7 separate regions of the Homo sapiens genome follow, and all the other regions are linked to region 1. Evidence: promoter capture Hi-C in 16 types of primary human blood cells and fetal thymus (Javierre and others, 2016). All regions are on one chromosome and are shown on one strand. Each heading gives the region's core, a stretch centred on a gene start or on the middle of the fragment in contact. The rest is flanking DNA. Distances are from core to core; before and after follow the strand shown.

Region 1 (3,427 bases), core at 423-2,922:
CCAATTATTAAAATCTGACCCCCAGAATTAAAATTGCAAAAGCTTAAAGGGGCAGTTCTGAGAAAAGGATCTTCAGTTTTGAATGTGTGGGCTCCACCAGGGTTGAAAATCCTGCACGACTGATGAAACACGATCCAGTTAAGCACAGTAATTTTCAAATATCCAATCAGGGCGCTTCCGTTTCTAAAAACAGAGAAACCGAGCAAGGGATTTTGGGTTGCAGCTCTAAAACTCCAACAAACTAAGCTCCTTTGTCCTGACAAGGGCCTAAACCAAGTCGACAGCCCGTAAGTGCACCCATGGTAAGGCGCTGCACAAAGAAAGCATTTTGCGTTTCAAAGCTTTGTCATGATGGCGCTGCAGAAAGCAAGCGAGCTAGGCCTACCTGGCGGGGCTTTCAGAGGACGCCAACGTGGGCGCCAGCCACGCCAGCAGGGTCACCGTCCTTCCCAAGGACAGACAGCTCGCTAGCCACTCCTGTGGAGAGGGCGTGGTTAAGCCATATATTTTGCCAACTATCCCAGAAGCATTTCTTAGGACCACCCAATTTCGGAAAATGCTACTTTAGCAATATTGACCCCAAAACGCAATATCCCCACTTTAACCTTGTATAATAAAAAGCCTCAAGCCTGGGACTGGGCTTCAACCTTGGTTCAATACGGTTATGACTAATTAGCTTGGAGTCGTGAGACGCGGGACTTCCGGCTACCGAAACCCAGGTGACTTTAAAACTCGATTTTAACTCGGTGCATTTGAATTCACCTTGCTATCTTTGATAGATTGAGTAGTAAATTCTTACTAGATGAGGCTATGTTAAAGTTCTATCGACTCTCCAAGTGATTCTAATATAATTGAGGGCGTGTTGCATTTGCTTGGGGGATTTCATCTGTGTACTACAGCTCTTTTCCTGAAATGCGTAGGTGGCTCTTAAAAGAGCCGTTGGGTTACTAGAAGAAACTTCTAACTGAATTTACTTTTTCTTGGGTGCCGCTTTCTTGGGTTTGGCAGTCTTTGGCTTCGTCACCCTAGCCTTGGCCGCCTTGGGTTTTACAGCCTTAGCTTTAGCAGGGCTTTTAGCTACTTTCTTGGGCTTTACAGTTTTGGGTTTTTTTGGATTCTTGGAGGATTTCCTTGTTGCCGCAGGCTTTTTAGCCTTTTTCGGAGTCTTGACGCTCTTTTTGCTAGCCCCCGTGGCCTTTTTGAGCTTTTTAGATGCACCCGTTGCCTTAGTTTTTGTAGCCACCTTTGAGGCGCCGGGCTTGGTTTCCACGGAGGACGCCTTCTTGTTGAGCTTGAAGGAACCCGAGGCTCCGGTACCCTTTGTCTGCACCAACGTTCCCTTGCTTACCAGGCTCTTAATGCCCAGCTTAATGCGGCTGTTGTTCTTCTCCACGTCGTAGCCTGCGGCCGCCAGCGCCTTTTTAAGAGCTGCCAACGACACACCACCACGCTCCTTAGAGGAGGAAGCAGCCTGCACGATCAGCTCTGACACGGAAGGGCCAGCGGGTTTTTTCTTGGAGGCTGCTGCAGCCTTAGCAGGTTTCTTTGCCTTCTTGCCAGCTAAAGGTTTCTCAGGAGCAGCAGAAGCGGCGGGGGCGGGAGGCACTGTTTCAGACATGGTGACTAACACAGCACACCAAATAAAGTGGTATAAACCTGACGAAGCAGGATGCGAAAAAAAGGCCCCAACGCAGCCTATTTATAGGGTGGGACTGCGCCGTGATTGGTGCCCGTCAGTGCCCGCCCCTCGCGCCCTAGCGCCCCCTGCGCGCTGCCGAGGGTTTCGCCCAGTCTCAGAAGGCAGCTGGGGGCCTCTAGGGCCTATGGTCCTGCTCCCCTCAACGCAAGCAAACACACAGAAAAAGCCGCTCTGGTTGCCTCATTGTGAAGGAAATTGTAGGCAGACTGCCGCCCAGTAACATCAGAGGGTACCGCTTCTCTCTCAAAAAGCAGCTCTTTTTTAGGGAGTAGGTTGAGAGGGGGCGGTTTACAAATGCAGTGCCACAAGCATCCGAGGAGTTTTATTAGAAATTTTTAGAGGTCCGTTGCCAGAGATGTTAGTTTTTAATTTGCAAGAAATGTAAAATACAGTGTTTTGAATAGTTGCGGAGGGAGAGAAAAGTGCGAGTTTTAGGCCGTGTTAGGGCCAGTTGTCATCAACTCTATTACATTTTCTGGCAATGTTTTAGAGCGATGTGTCTCGCGAATACCTTTCACGTCAAACAAGAATGAATCGTAGACAACACCAGAATTCACAAACGCTGCAATTAATACTCAAACTGCAAGTGTGGAAACGTTTCTGCACTTGCAACTTATTTCCACAGTCCAATGTGGGATGCACTTCAGGAATTTCCAATGCCCTTTTCATCCATACAACATGCCCCAAATTGGTATTAAGGTTTACAACCTGTGTTCCATGTCAGCACACGCAATCAGCGCACCATGACATGGTCAACTCATTCTTTTATTCAACAAATATTTATGGGCCTCACAAGCCTGCGAAAGGCGTTAAATGCTGGGTCCACGAAACCGGTTCCCTGACAGGCATTCTGCTGGGGAGTTAAGTCCACTTAGTGTGAAAGCAAACACGGGTGATAAATGCAAGCACACCCTGGGGATAAGATTTTATGGTAACAACCCTTTAACTTGTTTGTGGCTGTTAAGTGCATTTCAAAGTATCAATAAGCTAAAACGATCTCACATTGCCAATCAGAGACTCAGCTAATGGGAGAATAAAAAACTATTAAATCGACATCCACTTCTACAATCCTATTCTGGATAACCCCCTAGCACAGCACAGCAGAGAGTGAGGTAATGCGGTCTTATTTCCGCTCCTGCTGTGGTAGTTTTCAAATAAGTCCGAACCATGCTAAGTAACCTGAGCTTTTCCCCTTTTTGTTCAAACAACGTGCCAACCAAATAATGGAGTGGTCCCAGATAAGTATTGTACCCATCTTCTGCACCAGTGCTTCCTACGTCCCATTTTATTGAGAAGGCATGCATTCAAATATTTCACGTAATTTCTAAAAATTTGGAAAATAACGGTTGGAAACTCTACATCTTGGTTTGACGGCTAGTCAGTTATGAAACACAGGTATACAAAATTGGAAGATTTTTGTAAGTAAACCCTTTGTGAAAGATATAAACCTTTCTTAGTGTAATAAGCGAGGTATCTGAAAAAACGCAACTTTTGAAAAGGAAATACTCCTAATTATCTGATTCAGGAGTTTCCACTTTAAATAATGGGTTCTGCCTCCCTTTTTTCTATTGGGTTAAACTGGTTTCAAATAAAATGGGAACGCTCCATGCAAATGAAGGATGATAGATCTGCTTTCTAAATGGCTGTTCAAGAAAATAGCCTAAACCAATCAAAAGATAGAATGTGGCCTGTCTCTTGTGAATTTAAAAAGGTCACAATCCACTTTTC
Region 2 (3,653 bases), core at 964-3,463, 1.3 Mb before region 1:
CAGTCTATTTGATGGATGTTAAGAACACTTTATTGTGGGCGGGGTGCAGTGGCTCATGCCCGTAATCCCAGCACTTTGGGCAGCTGAGGCGGGTGGATCACTTGAGGTCAGGAGTTTGAGACCAGCCTGGCTAACATGGTAAAATCCTGTTTCTACCAAAAAATACAAAAATTAGCCGGGCATGGTGGCATGTTCCTGTAGTCTCAGCTACTTGGGAGGCTGAGGTGGGAGGATTCCATGAACCCAGGAGGCAGAGGTTGCAGTGAGCTGAGATCATGCCACTGCCCTCCAGCCTGGGCAACAGAGTGAGACCCTGTCTCAAAAACAAAACAAACAAACAAACAAAAATAACACTTTCTTGTGAATGGCCCAGGCATTGTGATAATGGAACTTGCCAGGAGGGCATTATTCCTGGCACAATATTTTGTTCTACAGTGAACAGTATTTACATAGTCATAATAATGCAACCCTATATATTGGCATTACACTCTTAGAACAAATCTATAAAAATAACATACACTCCTTGAATATTGTCATGCACAGAATATAAATGCTGTCCCTCTTGACAATGTGAAACTAAAGACATAGCTGACAGAAGTTGGAATGTGGAGGGGGAAAGATACATGAGAGAGAGAGTAAGGAGACAAATGATCTCATTTTACTTTGTAAGGAGTTAAGAATATTCATGGCAGCACAATTATTATGTATACATAAACATTAAAAATTAACAAATTAGAAGAAAGAAATCAGTGCCACCAGAGAATAGAAAAATGTTTGAAGAAAAAAGGCAATGAATGACGAAGTGTGTATTTCTTCAAAGTACTAAGGTTAACAAATGTCAAGCACAATTCTATAACTGGCTAAACTTTTATTCAGGATGGAAAGAGTAAAATAAAGCATTTTTATATATTAAAAAAAAAAAAAAAAGAGGCCGGGCGCGGTGGCTCATGCCTGTCATCCTAGCACTTTCGGAGGCCAAGGCGGGTGAATCACCTGAGGTCGGGAGTTCGAGACCAGCCTGACCAACATGGAGAAACTCTACCTCTACTAAAAATACAAAATTAGCTGGGTGTGGTGGCCCATGCCTGTAATCCCAGCTACTCGGAAGGCTGAGGCAGGAGAATCGCTTGAATCCAGGAGACGGAGGTTGCGGTGAGCCGAGATTGTGCCATTGCACTCTAGCCTGGGCAACAAGAGCGAAACTCCATCTCAAAAAAAAAAAAAAAAAAAAGAATATTTAAAGCATCATTATTCATAGTAGCTCCAAATAAAACATAACCTAACCTAAATGTCCATCAACAGTAGAATGGATAAATAAATTGTGATATAATATAGGCATACAAAGAAATGTTTTACAATAATAAATGATAGCTACATGCAACAACATGGATGAATCCCACAAACATTACATTGAGCGAAAGTAGCCAGACACAAAATAATGCTAACTATATAAGTTTGTATAATACAAACTATATAACCATATAAGACTATATTTATATAGGTTGAAGAAAAACAAATCTAATCTATAGTAGCAGAAGTCAAGATAGTGATTACCCTTGGGAGGAAAAAGAAAATAGTGCCCTAGTTATCTACTGGTAAGTAAAAAACCACTCTGAACTTAGCAACTTCGAACAACCACCACAATGTGCTTTGCCAACAAGTCTGCAATTTCGGCAGGGCTTGGAGGGGACAGCTCATCTCTGCCTCAACAGCATAAGCTTGGACAGTTCAAAGGCTGGGGGCAGTGAGGGCGGGTGTTGTTGGGGACTTGAGACTTGGAGGTGAAATCACTGGGAGTCTTACCCACTTACATGTCTGGCAGTTAATGCCGACTGTTTGCTGGGACCTCAGGGACTGTTGGCCAGAATACCTACACTTGTCCTCTCATGTAGCTGCATGGTTTTTCTTTATCATGGTGGCTGGATTCCAAGAGCAAACATCCCAAGAAACAGGAAGAGAAAGCTGCCAGTTTCTTAAGGCCTGGCCTGAAAACTGGCACAGTATCACTTCTGCAGTACTCTATGGGTTAAGCTGTCAATCTTGATTCAAGGGCAGGAGATAGAGACATTATTTCTCGATGTGAGGAATGGTGTCAAAGTAGTATTTGGGGACTATATTTTATAATCGCTGTAAGCTTTAATTAGGAGCACATGAGAGGAGAGGGTGCTTCTGGGGTTCTGGTTTCTTGAGCTAGGTGGTGATTATACAGGTATCTTCACTCTCTAATGATTCCTTCATCTGTACATATGGTTTGTGCACCTTCCTGAGCATATGTTTCAACTCCAATAAAAGAAAAGCTTAAAAAGGATGCAAACATTCTTTATGTCCAGATATAGAACAATCCCTAAGACATAGTAACATGCTATCATGGTTAAGTACTGAGCTCTGAGGGCTTGCCTGCTGGGTTCAAATCTAGTTCTGCCAATCCTAGGCTTTGTGTCTCAGTTTTCTCATTTGTAAAATGGGGATTATAATAGCTCTTACTCCAGGAGGTTATCTCAAGGATTAAATGAGTTAAAACATGCAAAGCATTCAGAATACTAATAGAAAAATAGAAAGTGCTTGAGAACTGCTTGCTATTTTTGTTATATTAAATGAAAATTGCAATTTGTATAGGTAAAGCAGTGTCTACAGTATGATGCCTTATATGGTTTGGCTGTGTCCCCACCCAAATCTCATCTCAAATTGTAGCTCCCATAATCCCCTTGTGTCATGGGAGGGACCCGGTGGGCAGTAATTGAATCATGGGGGTGGGTTTTTTCCATGTTGTTCTCATGATAGTGAATAAATCTCACAAGATCTGATGGTTTTATAAAGGGCAGTTCCCCTGCATACCTGCCCTTGCCTGCCACCATTTAAGATGTACCTTTGCTCCTCCTTCACCTTCTGCCATGATTGTGAGGCCTCCCCAGCCATATGGAACTGTGTGTCCATTAAACCTCTTTTTCTTTATAAATTACCCAATTGTGAATATTTCATCATAACAGTATGAGAACAGGCTAATACACTGCCATTTGTGGGAAAATGAGTAGACGTACCCATGGGTACAAACTAGCTATAAGATCAGGATATACAATAAACTAATAACGTTGGTTGCCTGTGGGAGGGAGATTTTTCACAGTGTAGACTTTGGTACCTTTTGAATTTTCAACTATATGAAGGCTGCATCTGGGAAATGGGTCTGGGTAGGGAAGAGGACTGTTGCTTTTTTATTGAGTGAAAGTAGCCAGACACAAAAATTTAGTGTTATATTTTCTACAATGTACATGATAAACATACTAAAAGAAAAGACAAGATGGGTCAGATTACAGAGGGCCTTATAAAAGACCAGGCATGGAAATTTAGAGTTGATTAAGGCCTGAAAATGGCACTGGCAATGGTGATAAAAGGATGAATTTAAACACTTAATAGAAAAAATCTAGAAAGTAAAATATCTGGATAGAAAATGATAGAGGTAAGTGAAGAGGACACCCAAGTTTTGGTGCGAGTAACTGTTACGGACTGAATTGTGCCTCCCCAAAATTCATATATTGAAATCCTAATCCCTAGTATGCTTCAGAATGTGCCTGTATTTAGAGATAAGACCTTTAAAGAGATGATTAAGGTTAAAAAATTATTAGAGAGGTGAAAAAGTTATTAGAGTGGTCTCCAAT
Region 3 (3,426 bases), core at 71-2,570, 1.7 Mb after region 1:
AATTTGTTGAGCTGTTCTCCCCTGGGCGGGAGAGATGCCATGCAGGGAGTCCTAAGCTTCCCATTGTCCCTCAGATCAGTAAAGAAGACCAGCCCTAAGCTGCTGACCACAGGTTCATGGGACTCTTCTGAGGGAATGTGAGGCCCAGAACTTACGCTAGTGATTCTCCAGGTGGACTATTCCTAAGATTCCTTGCCATACCCCCTTCTAGTGCAGAGGGTCTCTGGTATGGCCCACAAGTCTTAATTTTTAGAAGCTTCCAGGTGATTCAGAAGCTGAGGACCTTTGGGAAGATTTTGACAATCCTTTCATTAATGACAAATTTGTTTCATCTTAAAAAACAAAACTTCATCCTTGTATGTGTGGAGGAGGACACTATAGTGAAATTAAAGAAAAAAAAAGTCAAATTATCTGCTCCCTCCATCTACCTGAGGTTTTCTTGCTTGGCATTTGCAAAGAAATTGGGCGCATGGGTGAATACTTTGATTGCTATAAAGAGTAGAGTTTGGCCGTTGATTTTAGTACACTAAAAGTGCAAGGGCAAGAAACATACCAGCACCTTGACAGTTTCTGGGAAGAAACTTAACGGCACCTTCTGGACCCAATCTGCGTGGCGCAGTGGCCTAAAGAGGCGACCGAACCTGCATCCCTAGCTCCGCCTTCCCGGTCCCTGCACACCCCGGCAGCTTCCGCGCGATTCTTCCCGCCCCCGACACCCGCCGCCACACAAAGGCGCTGCGTCCTGGCGGCCAGCGGGGGCTTAGTCTAGGCCCGGCAGGGTTTTCTGGAAGACCAGAGGGCCACCAGGTCACCGAGGTGGGAAGTGAAGAGAGGTTCGACGCTGCCTCAGGCCTGGGCCTGGCCGGTGGGAGACACAGCAAGGACTCTGGGAGCCTGCAGAGCAGAGGCCGCCGCGGGGCCGGGCCCCCGTCTCCTCCTCAGGTCCAAGACCAGAGGGTCTGCAGGGCCCCAGAGCAGCTGGCCGCGCTCCGCTTCCCACCGCGCTCTCTGCTGGAACTCATGTGGTTGTTTATCCTTATTTTGCTAAATTTCTTTATTTGCTGTAACAGTTTGTGTGTGTGTGTGTTTGAGTGTGTGTGTGTAATTTTCAGGGTTTTCTATATATAAAAATCATGTCACGGCCAGGCTTGGTGGCTCACACCTGTAATCCCAGCACTTTGGGAGGCCAAGGTAGGAGGATCGCCTGAGCCCAGGAGTTCGAGACCAGCCTGGGCAACACGGGCAACATAGCGAGACCCTAGTCTCTAAAATTTTTTTTATTAGCCGGGCATGGTGGCAGGCGCCTGTGGTCCCAGTTACTCCGGAGGATGAGGCAGGGTAATCGCTTGAACCAGGGAAGTCGAGGCTTCAGTGAGGCATAATTGCTCTGCTGCATCCCAGCCTGGGTGACAAAGAGAGATCCCATCTCTCTCTCAAAAAAAAGTCATGTTATCTGTGAACATAGATAATTTTACTTTTTCCTTGCCAATACTGTGCTGAATAACATGGTGAAAGTGGGCACCCATTATTCCTGATTGTAGGAGAAAAATTTTCAGTCTTTCGCTGTTGAGAATGATATTAGTTGTATGTTTTTCATAATTGGGCATTATCAAGTTGAGGAAGTTTCCTTCTATTCCTGGTTTACATTGTGTGTGTGTGTGTGTTTTGTTTGTTTGTTTTGACAGAGTCTTGCTCTGTCACCCAAGCTGGAGTGCAGTGGCCGCGATCTCGGCTCACTACAGCTTAGACCTCCAGGGCTCAAGCAATCCTTCGACTTCAGCCTGCCAAGTAGCTAGGACCATAGGCGTACAGCACCACATTTAGAAGTCCCTGAGAAAATTATCTTGGAGGAAAACTCGCAAGTCCGACTATTGGTTTTCCAAGGAAGCCAGTCTCGCCTGTGAGGAGGGATCCTGCTCGCCCTGGGAGCCTACTCAGACACCATGGGGAATGGGGGGTGGGGCTCAGAGCGCGCAGGCTTGGTTTTTTTCCCCCTCCGAACTCCTGAGTTCCAGTGATCTGCCTGACTCAGCCTCCCACAGTGCTGGGATTACAAGTGTGAGCCACTGCGCCTGGCCTATTACTTGTTTTAATAATAACAAAAAACAGCAAAATCTTGCAGAAGGTTGGAAGGTAACCAAGCAGCTTAGCTTCAAACCACGTTTTAAAAACTTTGTTTCTTTTCTTCTTTCTCCCCAGTTTCTAGACATAGCTTTGAGACAAACTGCAGATGTGCTTTCTTTTGTCGTCAATTACTGCCTTGGAATGGGCATTAAAACTGCCTTCCCTTTCGCATCTTATGCCCCCATGCCTTATGCTCATTTATTTACCTGGATGCTTGTTAAGCTCATACCATGCCCACTTATCTGGTCATATATTTCCTTAGAAGCTTCAGGGGCTGAATCCTGATGCAGACCAGACATCTCCAGAATTCTCTCTCCAGTAGGAGATTAATTCAAGGACAATATTCACTCTTGGCTAGAGATTATCTGCAAGATTGACTGTCATTAATTTGTAACTTGATTGGGCCTACAATGTCACTGGCCCCTTCACCAGGTGAAACAATAATTCAAGATAAGCCATCAGAATGAGACACCCACTGGGCACCTCCTGCCTCTTGCCCCTCTGCATTACAAGCTCCTCTCCTTGAAATGCTTGGCCTCTCTCCAGAAATTGGAGAGTGGCAAATTTTGGCCAGCCACTCTCCCCATTGCTAGCATGGATAATAAAACTTACTCTATTTTTAATTACACCTCATTCCTTTTTTTTTCTTTTTTTTTTTTTTTTTTTTGAGATGGAGTCTCACTCTGTTGCCCAGGCTGGAGTGCAGTGGCACGATCTCAGCTCACTGCAGCCCTGCCTCCTGGGTTCAAGCGATTCTTCTGCCTGAGCCTCCTGAGTAGCTGGGAGTACAGGCGCACGCCAGCACACCCAGCTAATTTTTGTATTTTTAGTAGAGACGGGGTTTCACCATATAGGCGAGGCTGGTCTCAAACTCCTGACCTCGTGATCCGTCCGCCTCGGCCTCCCAAAGTCCTGGGATTACAGGCATGAGCCACCACGCCCGGCCTCATTCTTGTTCTTTTGGCTTTTTTCTACAAGTGACAATCAGCCAGACCCTCTTTCAGCTACAGGAAGAGTTTGATAAAGAGAATGCCTGAGCTCAATCTTGTGTGTTTTAAGGAAACAGAAAAAAAGGGAAAAGAAAAAGTCTTTTCCTGCCTTGTACCTCTGTCTAACTAAAAAGAGAGGCAGCTTCCTCACAGAAAAATATCACTGATCTTAAAACTGAATTCAAAGAACTGAAGAAGGAAGTTTCTAGTGTTTCACTTCTGTGGATTTGGCCCAGAAAAATCCACAGAGAAGGTGTTAAAGTCAGGTAATTTATCCTGCATCCCTTAGAAAGCCCTAGAGCCAATCAAAACT
Region 4 (3,393 bases), core at 357-2,856, 1.8 Mb after region 1:
GCTTTACAAAGCAGTATTGCTGCCCGCATGTCCCACCTCCAGCCCTAACGCGGTTTTTCCCTATCTCAGTAGATGGAACGTACAATCGGGTTTTATACCGAGACATTCCATTGCCCAGGGACGGACAGGAGACAGATGCCTTGCTCTTGTCTCAACTGCAAGAGGCATGCCTTCCTCTTATACTAATCCTCCTCAGCACAGACCCTTTACAGGTGTCGGGCTGGGGGACGGTCAGGTCTTTCCCTTCCCAAGAGGCCATATTTCAGACTATCACATGGGGAGAAACCTTGGACAATACCTGGCTTTCCTAGGCAGAGGTCCCTGCGGCCTTCTGCAGTGTTTGTGTCCCTGGGTACTTGAGATTAGGGAGTGGTGATGACGCTTAACGAGCATGCTGCCTTCAAGCATCTGTTTAACAAAGCACATCTTGCACCGCCCTTAATCCATTTAACCCTGAGTTTGACACAGCACATGTTTCAGAGAGCACGGGGTTGGGAGTAAGTTCATAGATTAACAGAATCTCAAGGCAGAAGAATTTGTCTTAGTACAGAACAAAATGGAGTCTCCTATGTCTACTTCTTTCTACACAGACACAGTAACAATCTGATCTCTCTTGCTTTTCCCCACAGAGAAGGCCCATGCAACACAGACCTAAACCCCTTTGAGAGGAAAATAGGGCATTTGGTGGAGGGGAGGGGAGGAGTCCTGGCTTGCGGCTATAAAAATGTTTTTCCACTCAGATTATTTTCTGAAAGAGGCTGAGATCAGGCACCTGAGTCACTGAAGGGTTCATGCTAGTGGAGTGAGAGGGCCAGGGGAACAAGGAAGGTGATAAATCTCATCTCTATTTGATAGGAATGCTGGGTAGTCATAGGAGAAACATCAAGCAGTAATTTCACATAACAGCAAAAAAGGAGCTGTTAAAATTAGCTACAAGGACAAGAAAGAACTTGGGCTGATAAGACCCTAACAAACAGGATGGTGGCTAAGCTGTCTGAAACCGTCTGGGTCCAACATGGCGCTGGATTTGACCCATGCCCTACCCAAGACCTAATTATATGCTAATTACCATACGAAATTACACACCCACCAGCGCCCTGACAGATCGAGTACGCCCATATTTAATATAAAAATGGGTGGCATCTCAATTTTATGAAACCTTCGCCTTTCCCCCAGAAAACCTCATGATTAGTCCACCCTCTAATTACAAGAGCCCATAAAAATAGAAAACTCAAACTCTGTTGGGCACGACTCATTCTCATGAGCTCACCCACACTTCCCTAAGTGTGTACTTTTGCTTAGCAATAAAAGCTTCTTGCCTTTGGCTTCATTCTGACTCCTCCCTGAATTCTTTCTTACGAAGGTGTCAAGAACCTGGAAACTGGCTGGGGCTGGGGCTGGGGTCTCACTGGCTTCTGGAAACCCTTCTGAGCCCTCTGGCAACACCTGTAGTGTAAGCAGCAATTCAGTGCTGTGATGCCTCGGTCCCAGACCTTTTTGGCACCAGGGACTGGTTTCATGGAAGACAGTTTTTCCATGGACAGGGGTTGGGGGAGAGGGGAATGGTTTCAGGATGATTCAAATGCATTACATTTATTGTGCACTTTATTTCTATTATTACATTGTGATATATAATAATTATACAACTCACCATAATGTAGAATCAGACGGAGCCCTGAGCTTGTTTTCCTACAACTAGATGGTCCCATCAGGAGGTTATGGGAAACAGTGACAGATCATCAGGCATTAGATTCTCATAAAGAGTGGGCAACATAGATCCCTCAAATGGGCAGTTTACAATTGGGTTAGAACTCCTATAAGAATCTAATGCCTCAGATGATCTGACAGGAGGTGGAGTTCAGGCGGTAATGAGAGTGATGGGGAGCAGCTATAAATACAGATGAAGCTTCACTGGCTCTCCTGCTGCTCACCTTCTGCTGTGTGGTCCGGTTTCTAACAGGCTGCCACTACCACTGACCAGTACCGGGTCAGTGGCCCAGGGGTTGGGGCTCCCTGCTGTGATAGTTAATACCCATGGCTCCAAATCTAGTGGCCCCACGTCAGGTCCTGGTGGGACCTGGTTCAGTTTTGCTTAGGACTCATCTTGTCCACATGAACCATTCCAGCCTGCTTTCTCATGCTCTTATTCTGGGATATCTTCCTAACCCCAGTATATCTGCCTCAGTGTCTCACCCTGTCTTTTTAGAAAAGGAAAAAAAAAAAAAAAGAAAGAAAACGTAAATGAAATTGGTGGAGAGTAATGGCCACCAATCCTATGCCTGACCTGGAACTGGAAACACAAGGCTTTCCTGAAGACAGAGAAACTCTGAGAAAACGGGAAAAGCAAGTTGGTGAAAAGAGCAAAATAAAAGTTTCAGAAGGGACTTTCTTGACATAGCACAGGATGAAGGAGTATCAAAGGTCTCTGTTTGGGCCCTTGGCTGGGAAAGCCCACATTCGCTGAAAGTGAAAGCTGTCCGCAGACATAACACCAAAGGGTTAGGGTAGGAAGCCCCTTTTTATGAATTCAACGGCAGGGATAGGGGTGGGGATAAGGTGGGGCTGCGTGGGTACACCAGGCGCCCGGAAAGCTGCAAAAGGCGTTAGGTCAATATGCAAAAATACTTCTAGGTCAATACGCAAAAATACTTCTAGTGTTGGGAAAGAAATTTTATTGGGGACAGGAAACAAGCGAACTGGCTAATATACTTTCTCTCTAAGGAGAGTAGTCTGACTTAATGCCTTCCTCGATTCTCTCTAAGGGCTTCTGAGGGCTTTGCTTGACTTTTCTCCTGTTTCTGCTCCTGAGCCCAAAGCAGCTCTTAAAGAAAGAAATGTCAGGTTTTGAAGCATGTTTGGTAGATTTGGAAAGGGCAACTCGCAACTTGAAGGGGATTGTTGGAATCAACTGGTTCTAGAGTGAGCTGATCTTAAGAGGCCAAGAGGAAAAAAGAAAAACCGGGAAAGAAACAGTGAAAGAAAAACAGAAAGAGGCAAAACAGTGTAACAACAACAACAACAACAACAACAAAATGGCTGATCACCTGCATGATAAATAAGAAGAGTAGAAGCGTGTTTTCCGTTAGCAGAGTGGCGCAGCGGAAGCGTGCTGGGCCCATAACCCAGAGGTCGATGGATCTAAACCATCCTCTGCTAAAGAAGGGTGCTTTTTTTTTTTTTTTTCCCCCCCCCCTTCTTGAGGAATTACCTTCCACAGTTGTGGGGAGAAGATGGCCTCTAAATATATATTATATATATTATATCTCTCTCTCTCTCTCGCTCTCTCTCTCTTAAAAGTCCTTTCAGAGGCTGTATCTCACTTTTAGATATGTCTTCAGCATGTTCCTTCTCCTTTCTCCAAATGTTTGCGTAACTCCTTTCTTACTCATATCT
Region 5 (3,504 bases), core at 660-3,159, 1.5 Mb after region 1:
TGTCATATTTGCTTTCAGTTTGGGAGTAAAGGAACTCGTAATAGAGCTTCTGCGTGCCACTTAACGCAGCCTGAACTTTTGCCGACTTCGGGATGTTTTACTGAGAACAGAGAGGAATCGTATTTACTTCAGAGAGGAAATACGATGTCATATTTGCTTTCAGTTTGGGGGCGAGGGAACTCGTGATAAAGCTTCTGCGTGCCACTTGACGCATCCTGAACTTTAAAAATACATCTGCAGACTCTTTATCTATTTTACCTCAACGGAGCGCAGGTATTGGTCCCACCTCTGCTTTTCCTGTCTTTGAAACCAACCGATGCACCTTTCGGGATTTGTAACTCCTATGTTAGCTAGGGCTCCAACCATGGTTGAACATAGACGGAAACCAGTGCGTCACAAAGGAGGCTAGCGAGAGTTCTTTTTTAAAAGGGTCTGACAAAGCGTCCGAGGAATGAAGGAGGAACTGGAGAGGATTCGCGGTTGGGCGGAGACACGTTCGCTGAATTGCCTTGCGTATATTTGGTAGGGGAAACGTGTGACTACAGAGCAAAGAAAGATGGACAATAGCGAGTAACTTCACAGGGATTTCCTAAGAGCTCCATTTTCACGTCAATTCCTCGTTAGTATAGTGGTGAGTATCCCCGCCTGTCACGCGGGAGACCGGGGTTCGATTCCCCGACGGGGAGGAGGCTTAAACTTTTTTTTAGAAAAGCACACTTCCGGTAAACACAGTCTCTAGTCTTCTGGGCAAATGTTGGGTTCTCTTTTTCTTTAGCAGAGTTCTTTCAAACCAACGAAATACTGATCGCAAAAACCATAAGCTGTAGAAATCATGAGGTTCTGTAATAGCAAGAAAATTTCCACTCTGCACTGTAATCTCCATCACAGTGGAGAAACCGGGTAGATACCATCTTACCCAAGTGATTGAATCAGTATTGGGACGAATCTACATTATATACCTTTTTTACAGGATGTGCTCATGAGAGCACAACGTCACTTTTGTGGTATTCTTGGCAAAAATATGTAATCTAAATCAGAAAACATCAGACAAACCCATATTGAGGGAGATTTTAACAAAATAACTGACTTGTACGCCTCAAAAACTGCAATTACTTTTGCATCAACCTAGTAACAGGCAAGCAGGGAGGAAAAATAAATAAATAAATAAATAAATAAATAAACAAATAAATAAAATAACAAAGTTACAGAACACAAAGAAAGGCTGACTAAATAGTCCACATTATAGAAGATCTTAAAGATATGACAGCAACATATGGTCTGGAATTTTTATCTTAAAGGACATTATTGAAATAGTTGGTGAAATCTCAATAAAGTCTATAGATTTTATAATATTATGAATGTGAATTCCTGATTGTATTAATTGTTCTATGGTTATAGAACAAAATGTCTTTAAGAAAATTCACACCTATTTACAAAATACGTATTTAAGGGTAAGGGGAGGTATGTGTCTTCAAACTCACTGTCAAATAGTTCAGAAATATACATTTATGTATATATATGAGAGAGAGAAGGAAAAGAAAATATAGGAATATCCTTAATGTGCTAATATTGAGGGAATTGGGGTGAAGGGTGCTCAGGAATTATCTGTATTATTCATGTACTGTGTCTGTCAGTCTAAAATAATTTCAGAATGGAAAGTTAAAAGGAGAAAAGCCTAATAAAACTATAAATGAAAATATACGAATTAAAATGTAAAAGGGCAAATATACAATTTTGAACAATGCATATGACAAGAGTGACGACTACATTAATGAATAGGAATTTAGAACTGATGAAGGAGTGGGATTCAAAATGTTATAAGTGAGCAAGAAAATTCATAACATGTGACAAAAGCTACATAAAGAGTGAATGCCTGAAACAACATTGTTTCGTAATGATTACATGTTGGAATATGAAAACAAATGGTACTAAATTTCAAAACAGCAACGACAATATAAAATGGAAAGGTATGGCGAAATCCAAATCATTCTAAGCTCCTTTATAATAAGGTAGGAATTAGAAGTGTACCTAGTATATACCCTCGACCAACGCTGAATGGATGAATATTAAAAGCAATATTTTTGTGAGCCATAATCAAAGCCAACAGCATTGCTTCTTTAATGAAAGAATACTCTTCCAGCATATAACAATATGTCTGATTTTGTTTTAAAAATACTTATTGGCCAGGCGAGGTGGCTCATGCCTCTAATCCAAGCACTTTGGGAGGCTGAGGCGGGTGGATCACCTGAGGTCTGGAGTTCGATACCAGCCTGGCCAACCTGCTGAAACCCCATCTCTACTAAAAATACAAAAATTAGCTGGGTGTGGTGGCGGGCACCTGTAATCCCAGCTACTCGGAGGCTGAGGCAGGAGAATCACTTGAACCCGGGAGGCGGAGGTTGCAGTGAACCAAGATTGCAGCATTGCACTCCAGCCTGGGCGACAGAGCAAGACTCTGTCTCCAAAAAAAAAAAAAAGAAAAATAATTATTATTAACATTTTTGTCATGAAATTTTGGCCATCAAATTTAAAAGTTAATATTATTGTGCAACACTTTCAGCCAATGGATTCTTTTTTTCGTTAACACTATTGAACAGTAGAGTGATTGATGCCTCATCCTTTTCACCTAACATTGAATCTCGTTTGTCTCTATTACTTCCTTTTAATCTATTATTTCTTTTTTAATCTAGAAGAAAAATGATTCATCGTGGATAAGAACTATAAAGCAATTGTTTTGTTTGTTTGTTTGTTTCTGGCTTTTTTTTTTTTTTGAGACAGAGTCTCGCTCTATCGCCCAAGCTGCTGTGCAATGGCGCAATCTTGGCTCACCACAACCTCTGCCTCCTGAGTTCGAGCCATTCTCCTGGCTCAGCCTCCCGAGTAGCTGGGATTGCAGGCGTGTATTTTGAGTAGAGACAGGGTTTCACCACGTTGGCCAGGCTGGTCTTGAACTCCTGACCTCGTGATCTACCTGCCTCAGCCTCCCAAAATGCTGGGATTACAGGTGTGAGCCACCAAGCCCGACTTAAAGCAACTGTTTGAAGGCACTGATAAGCTGTCAACCCAGGCAAGGCTTGACAAACTACAATCCTTGAGAGAAGGGAAGCACATTATATGAGTTTGCACATTTGAAAGTGCTTTCCTCCTGAAGGTGTGTCCCGTATTGCACCATTGTGGAATAGACCTCATGTGGAAAGAGGCAGTTGTGCTGGACTAAGGAGATACTGGTCAGAGTTTGGGGCTACCAACGTGCATAGAACTTGATGGTCAAAATTCAAGTGATGAGGGAACCACAGAGAAAGATCTCAAATTTGTATTATAAATTCTCCTTATATTACTGGCTAATTCCTAAGTTGTACCTACACAGGAAGATGTTCCAGTACAGGAAAGAGCAACTGGAAGGCTAATGATCTGTAGAGATCCAGTAGCTGCATGGTTCTAGGGAGACAGAGGTTGATGTTCATGCCTCTCCCAGTTGGAGCCCCATTGGTAAAATGGCTGTTG
Region 6 (3,831 bases), core at 236-2,735, 1.2 Mb before region 1:
GAGGTTGCAGTAAGCCGAGGTTGCACCATTGCACTCCAGCCCTGGTGACAGTGCAAGACTCCGTCTCAAAAAAAAAAATTATTATTGAAAATCCCAAACAGATATAAAAGTAGAGGGAGTGAATAAAAAATCTTCATGTACTCATCCATACTAGCCTCAGCAGTTATCAACACAAGGCCAATACTGTTTTATTCGCACCAGTGGTTCTCAACTGGGGATGATTTTGCCCTGCGGAAGGTTATCTGACAAGGTCTGCAGACATTTTTGGTCTTCACAATTGGGATGTACTCCTGGTAGCTAGAGGGTAGAGGCCAGGGATACTGCTAAACAGCATACAATGCCCAGGACAGCCCCCACCACGAACAATTTGCCCAGTCTAAAATGTCAATAGAGCCCATACTGAGAAAGCTTGATTTATACCTTTTCCCTTGCTTCTCTCAATAATTATTTCAAATAAAATATATGGTATAAAATTTCATCTGTAATTACCATTTATAGGTAGAAGCTATTACAATAAAACCCACAATATTGTCATTACAACTAATCTCTTTTTTTAACCCATTGCTCATCAGGTAACCTTAAACAACTCATATCTTACCATCCCAAAATATTCAGTCAGTGTTCAAATTTCCCTTGGGTATTTTTTTAAATACAGTGTTTAGTTCAGACGAGATCCATACATTGCATTTGGTAATATGTCCCTTATTTGTACTCGATAACGCCTTCCTTCTGCTTTTTATTTTTAAAATATTTTAAAATTAATTTTTTTTTGAGACAGGGTCTCCCTTTGTCTGTAGTCCCAGCTACTCGGGAGGCTGAGGCAGGAGAATCGCTTGAACCCGGGAGGCGGAGCTTGCAGTGAGCCGAGATCGCGCCACTGCACTCCAGCCTGGGTGACAGAGCGAGACTCCGTTTCAATTAAAAAAAAAAAAAAGAAGGAAAAGGCTAGACGTAATTATTACCAAGGTGTTTCTGCTCCTTCAAATTGCAACAGCAGTTGTAATTTCAGTGCCTAGAACAGTAGTAATTGGCACGTATAAGGCGCTCAATGAATAGCTGCAGGATTAACTGATAATCGGTTGTCTCCTGAACAATTCCTACCGCACCACACCATAGTCAAAACACAAAAAGCCAAAATATAAAAGCCCCTAATACAACTACGAGTCCGTGGAGCCAGGGCTTTACACAAATATATGTCGTGTACTACATATTAATATATATGCACATACAATATTTTGTTCTTCTGGTGCTAACGACTAATGGAGGCAAATCTTTCTCCCTTTCGTAAAGGGCTAAAACTTTGCATTTTAAGGAAGTTCCAAGAGCAGGGTCGGAGGGGAGGGTCAAAGGGCACAGGCCTCCCAGCCCGCAGAAAACCCCCACGGTCCTCAAGTACTCGCTACCGTTGACCGCGCAGGCGCAGGAAGGGGCGGGGCCGAGGGAAGAGGCGATTCGCGGGATCCAGAGGCCCCGCCCCTCGTCTGCGTCAGTTGGTCACGTGGTTGTTCGGAGCGGGCGAGCGGAGTTAGCAGGGCTTTACTGCAGAGCGCGCCGGGCACTCCAGCGACCGTGGGGATCAGCGTAGGTGAGCTGTGGCCTTTTGCGAGGTGCTGCAGCCATAGCTACGTGCGTTCGCTACGAGGATTGAGCGTCTCCACCCAGTAAGTGGGCAAGAGGCGGCAGGAAGTGGGTACGCAGGGGCGCAAGGCGCACAGCCTCTAGACGACTCGCTTTCCCTCCGGCCAACCTCTGAAGCCGCGTCCTACTTTGACAGCTGCAGGGCCGCGGCCTGGGTAAGGGCGAAGGGGTTGTTGAACGGTCGCGGGAGCCGGGGCGGGGTTGGGAGGTGAGTCGAGGGACTGCCCCATTGGCTGGGTCGGTTTTGGCGCGCTCTCACTTCCGCGCTTCCTATTGGCTGGCTGGCGCAGTTCCCGAGGCGCGCGCCGCGGTTGGTAGGCTCGGACGCGCGGGGCCACACTGCCCGCCCCCTAGCCTGGCGCTGGGCCTCCGGGACAAGTTGGCTGGGTCCGGGCTTGGGGACTGCAACGCGGGTAAGGGACTCAGCCTGGGCTTGCCAGCTGTGGGGATGAGGCGAAGCATCCATCCTCTTGGCAGTTAAGTGGCTGGTCCTGATCTGAGGGATCTGCAAATTTGGCTCATGGAAAGAGGTGGCTGAATTCTGCGTCTCCCATTAAACGGATACTGGCGTTGTTGATACGGGTTTCGCATGGACCCTGTCCTGTGCCAGGGTTTTTAATCTAGCTATTAAAGGAACTGGAGAATAACAAGTAAGGGTTGCAAGGTCGCTGACAGGCGTGGGAAACTTGTGAAGGATTAGAATGCTAAGTGGCTTTCAGCTTTTTTCACACTAAGGTACGTTTTACGTCGCAACCTAGGACACAGCTATCTAACCAAATGAGACGTGATGGAAGCAATGTTTCTCGTCTCTTCAATTCCATTCTGTTCAGTTGCATTTTTCTAAGCAGTGTTGCTCATGACTCACTAATTTCGAGATCACGGCCCGCGACCCGCAGTTTGAAGAACATTGCGTAGGGTCTGTTTACTGGGGCCCGAACACCATTTTCTTAACATGAAATAGAGTAGAAAATAGCAGGATGCCCGCACAAATTAGATTGTTTTGTTTTCTAAGCTTTTTTTTTTTTTGAGACGGAGTCTCGCTCTGTTGCCCAGGCTGGAGTGCAGTGGCAGGATCTCGGCTCACTGCCACCTCCACCTGTCGGGTTCAAGCGATACTCCTGCCTCAGCCTCCCGAGTAGCTGGGACTACAGACGAGCACCACCACGTCCGGCTAATTTTTGTATTTTTGGTAGAGATGGAGTTTCACCATATTGGCCAGGCTGGTTTCGAACTTCTGACCTCAGGTGATCCGCTTGCCTCGACCTTCCAGCACTTTGGTGATCATGCAGGTGATCCGCCTGCCTCGACCTCCCAAAGTGCTGGGATTACAGATGTGAGCCACCACGCCCGGCCTTTCCTAAGCTTTTTTGTTTGCACATGTGTGTGCACGCGCCAGGACACAAGGTAAAATGTATTAATGTTAGAAGCCACTGCACTGAGTAAAGGCATGGCCACAAAAATTAGGGACATCTATCGACGAGGCACAGGCGCAGACACGGCAGGGGCCAATGGGTAGTGGGCAGTGGGCAGTGGGCAGTGGAGCAGCAGTTCAGATGCTGAGTTTGGCCCAGTGGTCTAGTCAACCGCATTACATAGATCCCTTTCTACCTTTTCCCTCTTTCTTGCTTGTTAGTCCTTCAGTTCATGTTACTGGTTAAACATTTCCTACAAATGTAAATGCATGATCTCATTTGACCAGATATTAAGTCTGTGTTAAGTTATTGTCAGAGCCCAGTTTATTATACCTTAAATCTGTCTTTGAATCAGGAAAGTTAAGATGCTGCTCTTTAGGATGGACCTGGGCATACCCTAGTATCTGTTTATTTTGCTTTTTCTGGTGACTATTTAATCCAGGACAATATGTTTAGAAATTTTAAACCAGTTTTAGAAATTGGTTTAAAATACATTAATTTCATTTTTTCAGCTATAATTATTATGTGTGTATATATGTAAAATATAGATATCAAGAGTCATTAACTTTAGTCACCTTAGTCATTGACAGGGCTGAGTTTGGATTAAGAGAGAAAAAATAATAGTTCTACTGTACAATAGTATAATTTTTATGATTGTAAGTATTTTAAACCTAGACTCCACCTTCGGGGGTGCAAACCATATTGTTTTTTAATTACTAGTCTTCTGTGCTTCACCATCTACATAATGAATCCCAGTATGAAGCAGAAACAAGAAGAAATC
Region 7 (3,611 bases), core at 1-2,500, 1.3 Mb before region 1:
GGGGCTCCCCGCCACTCCTTCCGCCCCCCTTCTTCAGGAAGTCCCAGTCTCCTGAGTTGGCTCTTCGCCCCGCCCCGATGTCGTCATAAAAGCACGCCCTCAACCATCCTCAACAAAACACCCGGATGGAGTCGCACTTCCCGAGTCTCGTCAGCCTCTCAGAGTCAGGCTGGGCGCGTGACAGAGCCGAACTAGCGACCTGGGCGGGCCAAAACTGCGGAAGTCGGCGGAGAGTGGGCGAGGGTAGGGGCGGAGCAAAGAAGGAAAAGGAAAGTGTGTGTTGGAGATTGGAAGATTCTTATTTCGATTCTTATAATTAGTTAGTCCTGGGGGTCGGCCCCGCGGTATCCTGCGGCAACAAACCTAGAACTCAATTCGACACCTGGAATTTAAACGGCGTGCGGGAGCAGATGTCTCATGTTAGTGCTACTTGCCTCTGTCCCCACCCCGCCACGTGCGCAGGCAGGGAGGGCGGTCCTCAAGCTTCGAACAAGGTCAAAGACGTTGTTCAGACGTTGCTGCTGTGGCTTAGGAGAGGAGCAGCCCAGTCTGACTCGTGGATTTTTACCCACTGCTGTCAGAACACACTTTCTGTTAGAATCCCCCAAGACCTCAGACCTACAGCCTGCCCCTTAGGTGGTTCACTGTCTTCATCGAAACGTTTGCCGCCGAGTCGCACGTCCTTGGCACCAAAAAGCGTTGAGTCCATTTTTCAAAGCTCTAATGTGCTCTTTAAAACACAGTTATGTAAGTACTTAGCAAAGGTCAATACTCCACATAAGCAATGCTTATATACTCATTGGCTACTCTGAGATTTTAGAAGTCCATTGGGACCCCAATTACTACTTTTCACTTCGTGAAGTCAAAACAGATCAGCTGTAATAACATTATTTCAGCCATGAGCCAAAAGAATAACTGGTACCCACCCTTCAATATAAATTGTCCAGAACCAAAGGATGAGTCCTGAGATTTCCAAATAACTTCTAATCTCGGAAGATACAGCTTGCATTTTGCTAGTGCTTTGCTGATTTGTTTTCAAAATCATGTAACTATGGAAAGCTCACAGAGATAAAACAGAAAATGTCACGTAGTTTAGAGCATTGGTTTAAAAAAGAAAGATTTTTAAAAGTAAGCCGAGCATGGTGGCTCACGCCTGTAATGCCAGCACTTTGGGAGACCGAGGCAGGCGGATCACCTAAGGTCAGGAGTTCGAGACCAGCCTGGCCAACATGGTGAAACCTCGTCTCTACTGAAAATACTAAAATCAGCCTGGCTTGGTGGCAGGCGCCTGCAGTCCCAGCTACTCGAGAGGCTGAGGCAGGAGAATCGCTTGAACCCGGGAGGCGGAGATTGCAGTGAGCCGAGATCGCACCATTGCACTCCAGCCTGGGCAACAGAGTGAGACTCCGTCGGAAAAAAAAAAAAAAACAAACAAACATATGAGACATACAAGCCAGTATGATCTTCAGGTGATCCGCCTGCCTCAACCTCCCAAAGTGTTGGGATTACAGGCATGAGCCACCATTCCCAGCCGGCTTATATGTTCTTGACCTGGCCTTGACTTGTATCCATGATCAACTTCATGGAAGAATTTTTAAAATAACAGCTTTATTGAAATATAATTCACATACCGTATTTATCTACTTGAAGTGTACAATCCAATGGTTTTTAATATATTCAGTGTTGTGCAGCCATTACATTACCCCAAAAAGAAACCCTGTACCTATTAGCAGTCACTTCTCTTCTTTCTAGTTTATGTTCTGTCTATAGATTTGCCGTTTCTGAAATTTCATATAAATGAAATCATTTAATATGTGGTCTTTTGTGACTGGCTTCTTCACTTAGCATAATGTTTTCAAGGTTCATCCATGTTGTAGCATGTATCAGTACTTAATTCCTTTTTATTGTGGAATAATATGTATTGTATGAAATTCTATATTCATTCATCAGTTGATGGACATTTGAGTTGTCTCTGCCTTTTGGCTGTTATAAATAATGCTGCTATGAACATTTACTTAAAAGCTTTTGTATAGACGTATGTTTTTAATTCTCTTGGGCATATACTTAAGAGTGGAATTACTGGGATATATGTTAACTCTATCTTTAACCATGTGAGAAACTGCCAGATGTTTTCCAAGTCTGTTGCATCATTTTACATTTCCTCCAGCAGTGTATTCCAATTTCTCCACATTCTTGTTATTATGTCTTTTTTAGTATAACCATCCTAGTGGGTATGATGTATGTCATGGTGGTTTTGATTTTCCTTTCCCCAACGATTAATGATGTTGAGCATCTTTTCATGTGCTTATTGGCTGTTCTAATATCTTCTTTGGAGAAATGTCTATTCAGAACTTTTGCCCATTTTTATTTATCTACTTGTTTATTTATTTATTTTTTGAGACAGAGTCTCGCTATGTTGCCCAGGCTGAAGTGCAGTGGCATTATCTCAGCTCACTGCAACCTCCGCTTCCTGGGTTCAAGCAGTTCTTCTGCCTCAGCCCCGAGTAGCTGGGCCCACAGGCCCCCACCACCATGCCCGGATGATTTTTGTATTTTTAGTAGAGACGGAGTTTCACCATGTTGGCCAGGCTCGTCTCAGACTCCTGACCTCAAGTGATCCACCCACCTCGGCCTCCCAAAGTGTTGGGATTACAGGTGTGAGCCACCAAGCTCGGCCTTTTACCCATTTTTAATTTAAAAAATTGTTTTTTTAATTATTAAGGTGTAGAAGTTTTTTATTCTAGATACAAGTTCCCTGTCAAATATATACTTTACAAATACGCTCCCCTATTCTGTGGGCTGTCCTTTCACTTTCTTGGTGATATCCTTCGCAGCACGGAAGTCTTTAATTTTAATAAAGTCCAACTTATCTATGTTTTTCATTTGTCCCTTGTGCTTTTGTTGTTTTATCTAATACACCATTGAAGAATTTTTTCACTACTATAATAATCCTGAAAAAAACAGTATGGAGCAGATGTTGAGGAAAAAATGAAGTTTTTAGTTTCAGCTACTGTGAAACAGAATTGGAGACACCTGGTCACAGCTGAGCACATCCTATGAAACTGTGTTATGGGACTGTGCTAGGTCTTAATGAGATGAGCCAAGAAATAGCAGCAATGTCCCCTGGAGGACGAAAACACTGCTAGCTCAATTTTCTCTGTAACTTGAAAGGGCTATAAAATAAGAAGGTAGTCGAAGGAATTAAAATTTTTAAAAGCCGTGACCAAACGTTTCTCAATGAAATTCAGATAAAAGTCAGAGAGCATTCACTTAAGATTTAGCTTCTTTAACTGTGGAGAAATGCATTTCATTGTGTTAGAAATGGCTTACTTAGGGTTAGGCTGCTTCAAACACAATAGGATTTGTGGAGTGATGATTTGATGGTGGCACCTTGGCTAAAAATATCTGCTTAACTTCCCTTTTGGAGTTTTAAATTATACCACTAGATACATTGAAATTTCCCTGGTTGAAATGCAGATATCACTGCAAAGGTTACATTTTAATGAAATAACACCTTATAGAGATTCTGTGCGAGCCTCCTTTCTGAAGAAACACAATGCAGGCCAGCTTGGGCGGGCTCCTGTGTTAACTTCCAATCTTTAAAGAAGGAC

The links. The method cuts DNA at HindIII sites, captures the fragments that hold promoters and counts their contacts. A CHiCAGO score of 5 or more calls a contact.
Region 2: a fragment that was not itself captured here is called in contact with the fragment with the promoter of H1-1 in region 1 in 1 of 17 cell types (M0 macrophages); the score reaches 5.3 in M0 macrophages.
Region 3: a contact is called between a fragment that was not itself captured here and the fragment with the promoter of H1-1 in region 1, in 1 of 17 cell types (fetal thymus). The highest score is 5.5, in fetal thymus.
Region 4: a fragment that was not itself captured here is called in contact with the fragment with the promoter of H1-1 in region 1 in 1 of 17 cell types (M2 macrophages); the score reaches 7.6 in M2 macrophages.
Region 5: a contact is called between a fragment that was not itself captured here and the fragment with the promoter of H1-1 in region 1, in 6 of 17 cell types (naive CD8 T cells, fetal thymus, total B cells and 3 more). The highest score is 8.0, in naive CD8 T cells.
Region 6: the fragment with the promoter of GMNN here is called in contact with the fragment with the promoter of H1-1 in region 1 in 1 of 17 cell types (monocytes); the score reaches 5.3 in monocytes.
Region 7: a contact is called between a fragment that was not itself captured here and the fragment with the promoter of H1-1 in region 1, in 1 of 17 cell types (M1 macrophages). The highest score is 5.1, in M1 macrophages.

What each region holds. Positions count from the first base shown.
Region 1 is chr6:26,016,115-26,019,541 of GRCh38, forward strand. It overlaps H1-1 (H1.1 linker histone, cluster member), which reads right to left and starts at 1,673. Exons shown (of 1, transcript NM_005325.4): 1 at 918-1,673. The coding sequence starts at 1,618. The coding sequence ends at 971. It also overlaps the pseudogene H3P26. RefSeq lists an enhancer at 1-865. The HindIII fragment of the contact is 5,921 bases long and covers 340-3,427 here.
Region 2 is chr6:24,737,018-24,740,670 of GRCh38, forward strand. No RefSeq gene overlaps it. Among named protein-coding and RNA genes, the nearest start is that of LINC02828, 3.5 kb to the right of the region's middle. The HindIII fragment of the contact is 163 bases long and covers 2,133-2,295 here.
Region 3 is chr6:27,756,717-27,760,142 of GRCh38, forward strand. No RefSeq gene overlaps it. Among named protein-coding and RNA genes, the nearest start is that of TRV-AAC1-5, 5.0 kb to the left of the region's middle. The HindIII fragment of the contact is 2,133 bases long and covers 255-2,387 here.
Region 4 is chr6:27,774,801-27,778,193 of GRCh38, forward strand. No RefSeq gene overlaps it. Among named protein-coding and RNA genes, the nearest start is that of TRQ-CTG6-1, 15 kb to the right of the region's middle. RefSeq lists a silencer at 3,083-3,142. The HindIII fragment of the contact is 595 bases long and covers 1,310-1,904 here.
Region 5 is chr6:27,479,060-27,482,563 of GRCh38, forward strand. It overlaps TRD-GTC2-6 (tRNA-Asp (anticodon GTC) 2-6), which reads left to right and starts at 615; the gene lies at 615-686. RefSeq lists a silencer at 668-727. The HindIII fragment of the contact is 3,440 bases long and covers 190-3,504 here.
Region 6 is chr6:24,773,452-24,777,282 of GRCh38, forward strand. GMNN (geminin DNA replication inhibitor) reads left to right here and starts at 1,486. Exons shown (of 7, transcript NM_015895.5): 1 at 1,486-1,793; 2 at 3,771-3,831. The coding sequence starts at 3,796. RefSeq lists an enhancer at 2,401-2,480. The HindIII fragment of the contact is 2,242 bases long and covers 407-2,648 here.
Region 7 is chr6:24,721,178-24,724,788 of GRCh38, forward strand. No RefSeq gene overlaps it. Among named protein-coding and RNA genes, the nearest start is that of C6orf62, 3.8 kb to the left of the region's middle. RefSeq lists enhancers at 1-500, 246-1,039, 631-680, 731-820. The HindIII fragment of the contact is 1,539 bases long and covers 482-2,020 here.